Linked DNA regions of Homo sapiens: region 2 is linked to region 1. The links are contacts of gene promoters, found by promoter capture Hi-C in human tissues and cell types (Jung and others, 2019). All regions are on one chromosome and are shown on one strand. Each heading gives the region's core, a stretch centred on a gene start or on the middle of the fragment in contact. The rest is flanking DNA. Distances are from core to core; before and after follow the strand shown. Region 1 holds the start of SLC6A19 (solute carrier family 6 member 19). Region 2 holds the start of LOC124900931 (a long non-coding RNA gene).

Region 1 (3,789 bases), core at 765-3,264:
CTCAGAGTCTAGCAGGTGACCTGGTGGCCCAGCCGAAGGGCCAGGTCAGGGGAAGCTTGTCTGGGGTCTGGGGAGAAGGGCCTGCTGGTGTCCACCCCAGGAGTGGGACCATCTGAGACCCAGCACATCCCAGAGCCCTGCTCGGCCCTCCTCACCTGGGCCTGCCTGCCCGGAACCCGCTGCCCGCTGCCCGCTGCCCGCACCTGTCCACCCCAGCATGGCCCAGGGTGCAGCGCCAGCACCCGCTGCTTGAAAGCTGCTCGCTCCCAGGCTCCACCGTGCACAGCGGCTGGTCTCTGGGTGTCAGAGCGGGGACTATCTGAGGTGCTGGGAGCCCCATCAGATTCCTGCCCAAGCCCGCATCTTAGAACTTGCCCTTCTGTGCAAAGACAAATAACTTCCCAGGCAGGCTCAGGCAGTCCCAACCCCTCCTCTTCCCAGGAGGCATGTGTCTGCCCCTCCATCCCCAGTGGGGATGTGAGCCTGTGACTCAGTTTCTCCTCCAAGCTAAACAAACTCAGGGTGTGGGTGAGCGCAGGGATCCTCCCCACAGGATAGGGCCCTGGGGGAGGGGGCGAGGACAGTGGCCAGGAAGTCCCCTGAGGCTTTGGTGAGCTGAGACTTGGGGACTGTCAGGGACTATAGTATCGGAGTGGCCAAGGTCCCCCGACCTGCCTCCAGTGGAAAGTGCAGGCTGGACCAGAGGCTCATGAAGCGCCCACCCCCGCAAGGCAGTGATCAACTCCTTGACAATGCTGGAGGCGAAACTGATTCAGGAAAAGCCCATTTCTGTTTTTCTTTAAAAACCTTCACATCACAAAGCCCGCGTGAGAGACAGCAGCTCTCCATGGTGAGAAGGAACAGGGCCCCCTGAGGGCAGACTCCTCTAAACGGAGGCTGAGACCTTCACGGCCCCCCCGTGAACTGCCCCAGGGCAGCAGGAAGCCTGTTTCCCAAGGGTGCCCGGCCCTCCTGGACCTTCCGCTGAGAAAGCAGCAGGTTTATGAGGGCAGCAGCTTTGGGGTTCGCCAAGCCCAAGGCTGAGTTCAAGTGTGGGGGTCCTAGGTACAGCCCCCTGCCAGGCCTGGGAGCCACTTCTCAGATGCTCAGGACCACTGGGCAGGAACACAAATGTCACCTCTGTGCCAGCAGCGGCCATGCCTACCTGGGCCGCAGGAGCCAGAGGAACGAGGAGCAGTCAGGCTTGTGTGTTGGGTGGGCACAGCGGCTCCCGGCCTCCAGGCCTGAGGGCACCTGGCTCAAGAGCCAGGCCCGAGTCCACAGGCTCCGGCTACCCACTCTGCTCCTCTAGGGTCACCTGCCCCCAACCCAGCTACCTCCTCTGCTCCCTGCACTGGCAGGTGTCCGCCTGTGGGGCTGGGACGAGAGGTGATGCCCAGGAGGGCCCAGCCCCGCGTCCTCCGAGGAGGGGCTGTACCGGGAGAAACACCCTTCCCCCGGCCCCACCCTCAGGCCAGAACGTTCCAGGACTGCCAGTCTGGAACACAGGGCCCTCCCTGGAGCCCCACACGAAGTCTTGGGGTCGTGCCGGCCAGGCCCATCTCCTCACCAGCAGCCTAGGAACCGGGCACGGGGGCCCGTGGGGGCCCCAGCTCCCCCCACACCCTGCGGCTTCTCCTCTCCCCTCCGTGCTTGGGGAGCCGAGGGTCCGGGGAGGATGTCTGCCCAGGGCCTCTGCGTGTGTCTGTGCTTCCCTGGCCACGGCCTCGCCCGCAGCCCCGCCCGGCCAGCCTACCTCCTCCGTGGCTCTGACACAGGTAGGGGAAGCGCCACACGTTGCCGAGGCCCACGCAGAAGCCCAGGCAGGTGAGCATGTACTGCGCCTTGTTGTCCCACTTCGGCCGGGAGCTGGCCTCCTCCTGCTCGATGGTCTCCAGCTCAGCCAGGGACGGGATCCGGGCGTCTAGGCCGGGGTTGGGCAGCACGAGCCTCACCATGGTGGTCGCTGGACGGCTCCGCACACAGCAGGCAGGGCAGAAGCTGGAGGGCGAGTGGCCGTGGGCCGGGAGCCGGGCACTTTATAGAGAACCTTTGGCACCTCGCCCCAGGCACCTGGGCAGAACGGAGCCAGTCGTCAGCAGATCTGCAGGGTGCGTCTGCGGAGGGACTGTTAATGCCTTATCTGCAGAGACGCCCGGCCCCGGGGCCAGCAGAGCCACCCACTGCCTTCGGGCAACCGGAGGCTGCTCCGTGGGCGCTGGCCACCCCTCCCCCTGCACAAACGCACACACAAATGCGTACAAACGCCGGTGCACCCCGGGGAGAAAGAACCAAGGCAAACAGGATGCTGGCTCTGCCCCGGTCTGGGAGCCCCTGGCTGCCGCACACCCCCACCTGCAGGACGCCGGGTGGGCCTCTCCACAGCTCCCTGGAGCACAGGCATCCCCGGCCCCCACCCCAGTCCAGGGAGAGGGAACTCAGCGGGAGCAGGGGCCCTGGGGCAGCTCTTGGTCTGCTCACACCAAGCACAGCGAGGCCCTGGACCCCTCCAGCCTGGCTCTGGGCTCTAGACGGCTGCTCGGGGGCCCGGCTTCCCACCAGTCCCCACGGAACCACGGCTCCTTGGGATGTGGCCTGAATCAACCTGAGAGTGGGGTTCCCGTGGCTGTGCCCCCTGGGCCACAGTTTCATTCTGGGGTTCGTAATGAACTTCATAATGAACAGCTCACGCTGCCCAACCCCAGCCTGGATGCCCGGATCCCATCCCTGGCTGAGCTGGAGAACATCGAGCAGGAGGAGTTCAGCTCCCGGCCATAGGTTCAGGACCCAGAGCCACCCTCTAGGGCAGCCTCGTCCCCAAGGGCCCTCTGGGGTCACGGGGGATGGAGGGTCCTGTGTCATGGAACCTGCAGCCACCCCAGATCCCCACCTTCCCGGTGACTGCACGGTTTCTGTCCTTCTGTGGAGCACTTTGTGGGGGGCAGTCCTGTGCCGGGCATGGGACAGCGAAGGAGATGGTGTTCCTGCTCCCCAGCAAAGAGGCCGTGCAGGGAAGCCACAGGGCTGACCACGGGGTCCAGGAGGGGCAGGAGGAACGTTGCGGGGAGTTCAGGAGAGGATCCTGGGGGTTGTGTCTCCAAAGCCAGAGTGGGATTCTCTCCTGGTTTTCCGCACAGGGAGTTGGAGGCCATCCTCTGTCGGGCGCTGCCCGTTTGGGCCCCCACTTGGGCCTCCCCTCACGTCTCTCCCATCTAGGAGACCTCAAGCTCTGGAATCCCGGACCAGCCTTCCTGAGGCCAGGGACGGTGCCACACCCTGCGCCTCCCCAGGCCTTCCTCCCGTTGCCTCCTTCAGCCTCTGGGCTCACCTCCCTGGGGGCCCTCGCTGGCCCCCTGCCCCCACTGCCCACATGGCTCCTTCCATAGCCGGGGCCTTCCCGGCAGGCATGGGACTTTCTCCCTAGCCTCCTGGTTCCTTTATCTCAGTCTGCACCGCTGGGCGATAAGGACCCAGAGCCGCCCCCGCCCCCACCTCCACCCTGCACAGGGCTCATCGACATTCGCTGAGTAATGGAGATGAAGGCGCTGGGGGCGTCACTCAGAGATGAGCGAGTTTAGGCGCCTGACCTTTGCCCCTAGGACACAGGAACTCAGAAAGGGAGGCCAGAAGGAAGAGATCACGTTTGCATTTAAGGACTCCTGGCTTCCGAGCACAGCGCAGATTGGAGGGAAGGGTGGGGACTTGGGAAGACAGAGAGAGAAAGACAGAGACAGAGAAAGAGAGACAGGGAGAGACAGAAACAAGGAGAGACAGAGAAAGAGAGACAGG
Region 2 (3,789 bases), core at 393-2,892, 240 kb after region 1:
TGAGCCCGGGAGGTAGAGGTTGCCGTGAGCTAAAATTGCACGACCGCACTCCAGCCTGAGGGACAGAGAGAGACCCCATCTCAAAATAAGTAAATACAAATAAATAAATTACAAATGAAGAATAGTAACGTTACAGTGGGGGAAGCCAGCAGATCCCACCAGAACCAGGTGACCAGGGCCAAAACAACCCATAATGAGGCAAAGCATAGGGCCCGTGAGTCACTACTGCGGACGCTGAGCAGGGTATGGGGCTTCTGCCAGTTTCTTGGCACAGACACATAACTTCGATCCAGACATGATAAAATAGCAAACTCAAACTGAGGGCTGTTCTTCAAAACACCCAGCCAGTGCTCTTCCAAGTGGCAAGGCCATGGGAGGCAAGGAAACACGGGGCCTGCCGTGGGCTGGAGCCTACAGCGAGATGACACCTGCGTGCTCATGGAACTCAGTGTTGTTTCTAAAGCAGGAGGTGGATGTTACCAGAAACTGGAGGAATCTGAATCAAGCTACTGTGTAGTTAATTGCCCCGTGTTAATTCTTAGCCTCAATCCTTGTGGTCAAGGTCGGGTATGCAAGGTGCTGACACGGGAGGAAGCTGCCTGAAGGGGGCGGGGACTCCTGGACGATCTTGGCAACTCTTCCATAAGTCTAACGTTATTTCAGAAAAAAAAGTGTAGTGACATAGCTTAACAAAAAATAAGTGTAAAAAAGCTGAAAAGCAACAGTTAATCCTACGTGAGAGACAACGATGGTTGACTTTCTATACTTGGTGTTTCCCCAAGAAAGAAGCCCCTGGATGCCAGGGTCCCTCCCACTCTACACGTCAGCACGAGGCCGCGGTTCGCTCCCATCATCCGGTTCTAGATGTCAGCACGAGGCCGCGGCTCGCACCTGTCATCTGGGAGTTTCTCCCTCCCCTCCTGCCCACAGGACAACTTCTACTTCTCCTTTGGAATTTCTGAACACAGGAGGCCCTTCTCGGAAGCTCAGCTCTGCCTTCGCCCGCCAGGGCTGTTTCTCCCCTCGAGCCTCTGTCTCCACACCTGTGAAACGGGACGATAAGGGCCCCTTCATGGTGCGGAGGGAGGGCTAAGTTCATAAACGCGTGCAAACGAGGTGAGGACTGGCCGGCACGTAGAGACCCCGTGATGGCTGTCGGCCACCAAACAGACATTCTCCGTGCTCTTCATGCTCTTGCTTATGAGGAGAGATGCTGTGAAGATAAGTTTAAAAACGGCCATGCCATGACAGTTCACAAATAATATTATTCCCTCTGCGAATGCCCTTACCTTCTCTGATGACACTTGTTTCCTATCAACATCGATTTCTGTTGGCTTTCATGCCACCCTCTCTGAATGAGAATTGGGAAGACTCCAATGGCTGTTTTTAACCCCATATTTTTCTGTTCTGTAAACTTCTGTTCATTGCCAGGCTTTGTATCTTCCTTCTTTTAAAAGCGAAAGTGTCCTTTCTCTTCTTGTTTGGAACCTAGAATTGTGTATCGATGCATTTTTGGTGATTTCCCAATAACTAGCTGTGATCCTGCTCCACAGAGCCCTAATGCTTGAGCTCAAACTGTCCGAACCCACACTGCACTCCTTGGAGAAAATGAATGCAGCCTGAATTCTGCTGCTGAGAGTGCCTGGCCGTCCTGGTGGTCACTGACTCACTGGGGTCTGGCCGTCCTGGCAGCTCCTCAGGTCACCGGACTCTGGGGAGGCACCGTGCTGGTTCTGCCTGTGCCTGGTGGGACCCCCTGGTTCCCGGCACTGTCTGGGCCTCGTTCTGAGAGATGACTCCTTCTCACCATTGGTCACCAGACCTGGGCCCTCGGCCACTCGTGGCGTGGCTGAGATTTCAGGTCTCAGAGGACTGTCACCCCCTTCCTCCTATTCAATTTCTGCATGAAGTCTCTAAATCAATAACAGAGAAGGGGAGAGGAAAAAGGAAAGAAAAACTCCCACCTAATGGCCATTTTCAGAGCAGCCGCAGAACCATGTGACACAGCTGACCGAGGCAGCATTGCAGATACATTTGTGTGCCTGCAGATCTCAGGTACACGGACCCGTCTCCATGCTCAGGGGGCCTCTAAAGGGGGTGCAGGCTTTGGGGGCAGAGCAGAGGGGTGTAGGACTCTGGGGAGGCCACGACCACTGAGGGAAGGACCTTGCTATCTCACAAGGCCGAATCCTCCCCAAGGTGGCTGCCGTCTCCCTGGACCCTGCGTTCTGCACCCCCGGGAGGTAGGGAGTTGGATCTCGTACCAACGATGAATGCGTGGACACGTGTGGATGCCGTCCGCTTCCCAGAGTCCCCAGCCGGGCTCCCCAGGGCTCTGCGGGACCCTCTTCCATGCACCTGTGCTGTTTGCTCTCAGGTGGCTGCAAGCAAGTCCCTTTTCTCAGCCAGGCAGGAGGGAGTGGAGGAAGGGCCTGTGTGTCTCCTCAGTTTCAAAGAAACTCCCACGGCAGAGCGTGCTCTTGAACTAAAGCTTGAATGAATCAGAAACATCTGGGCTGTTTTTTCTGTGCTTAAGATACAGGAAACAGACCCATCCAAAGCCGTTTGGGGTTTTATCAAGGGGTCATTTAAGATGCAGAGCAACTTGAAATCGCCCATCTGTTGGAGAGCCGTGCGTGCTGACAGAGGGTAAGAAACTACAGCCCGCGCAGCTGCGGTCTTCATGTGGTCGCTGCACGCAAGGGTTTGCCGTTATCTGTTGCTTCTGAAGGCAAGGGTGAGGGGAGCGGAACTGGGTGTTGCCTGGTTCTGCCGTCAGACCAGGCACTGGGGAGGGAGTCCTGTGGGGAGGTGGGGCCAGGCCTTGTCTCTGTGACAGTGAACGTCCCTGTCCATGTTGGTGTTTCTCAGACAAGCCACCTCCTTCCACCCCCACGGTGGTGCAAGGGGAGGCTTTAGTCCAGGATAACAAATTCTGAACCAGCTGCTGCGTCTGGAGCCCCTGAGGGCTTATGCACTGGTGACCAGGGAGTTTCCTGGCTTATCACATCCGAGGCCGACTTTCGGGCTACAGAGGGGCGTGTGAGCCCCTGGAGTAGACAGAGGAACTGCTTCTCTGCCAGGCGCTGTGTTGAGATGAGAGGGAGGGCAGGTCCTTCGGCTTCTGAAACATGAAACAACCCCACACCTAGGGCAGGGCGTGCAATGCCACCATGGCCTGGAAGACCCAAGAGTGATGAGTGCTGAGCACAGGCCAGGCCCGGGGCTGTCACGGGCAGAGCCACTGGCCCGGCGTGCAGGTGGGAAGGAGGTCTCGGTAACTAAGCATTCGCATGATTCTGTCCTCTGAGGACTGGGGCAGGTGCTTCCTCTACCTCCCAGCAGCCTCCCTAATTCCAGAAGAATAAGAACAGGGGAGAGGAAGCCAGTGCAAGGGCTCCCACCTGCTCCCTCCAAGCCAGAGGTGCTGCCTCGGTTCTTCACTTCCAGCCAGGCCATGCCTAGCAGGCCTTCGTCCAGTCCACGCGTGGCAGCGCTTGGCCTGCCTCAGGCCTGTGTCCTCAGGCATTGTTCCCTCCTGTGTCTGCCCTTGTCTGGGGAGTATTTTCTGTCCTCGCTTCAAGTCCCTGAGAGTCTGCCTGGCACCCTGACCCATTCTGCCAGCCCAGCCAGTCCATACCAGGGAAGCTCCAAGGGTGGGCCTGGGTGGGCCGTGCCCTGGAGGAACACTTCTTGTGGCCCAGATGAACGCCGTGGGTGTGGGGGCCATGTGGACGGTGGTGGGTGAGGCCGGGGGTCCCCACAGCGAGGGCTTGTGGGTCTTGGTGC

Evidence for each region. The method cuts DNA at HindIII sites, captures the fragments that hold promoters and counts their contacts. A contact is called where the count stands out against the background at its distance.
Region 2: a contact is called between a fragment that was not itself captured here and the fragment with the promoter of SLC6A19 in region 1, in 2 of the 25 tissues and cell types used here (H1 embryonic stem cells and mesenchymal stem cells).

Annotation. Positions count from the first base shown.
Region 1 is chr5:1,199,820-1,203,608 of GRCh38, reverse strand. It overlaps SLC6A19 (solute carrier family 6 member 19), which reads right to left and starts at 2,014. Exons shown (of 12, transcript NM_001003841.3): 1 at 1,757-2,014. The coding sequence starts at 1,958. The HindIII fragment of the contact is 17,186 bases long and covers 1-3,789 here.
Region 2 is chr5:962,959-966,747 of GRCh38, reverse strand. It overlaps LOC124900931 (a long non-coding RNA gene), which reads left to right and starts at 2,587. Exons shown (of 2, transcript XR_007058676.1): 1 at 2,587-2,649. RefSeq lists enhancers at 911-1,412, 2,999-3,158. The HindIII fragment of the contact is 5,091 bases long and covers 1-3,789 here.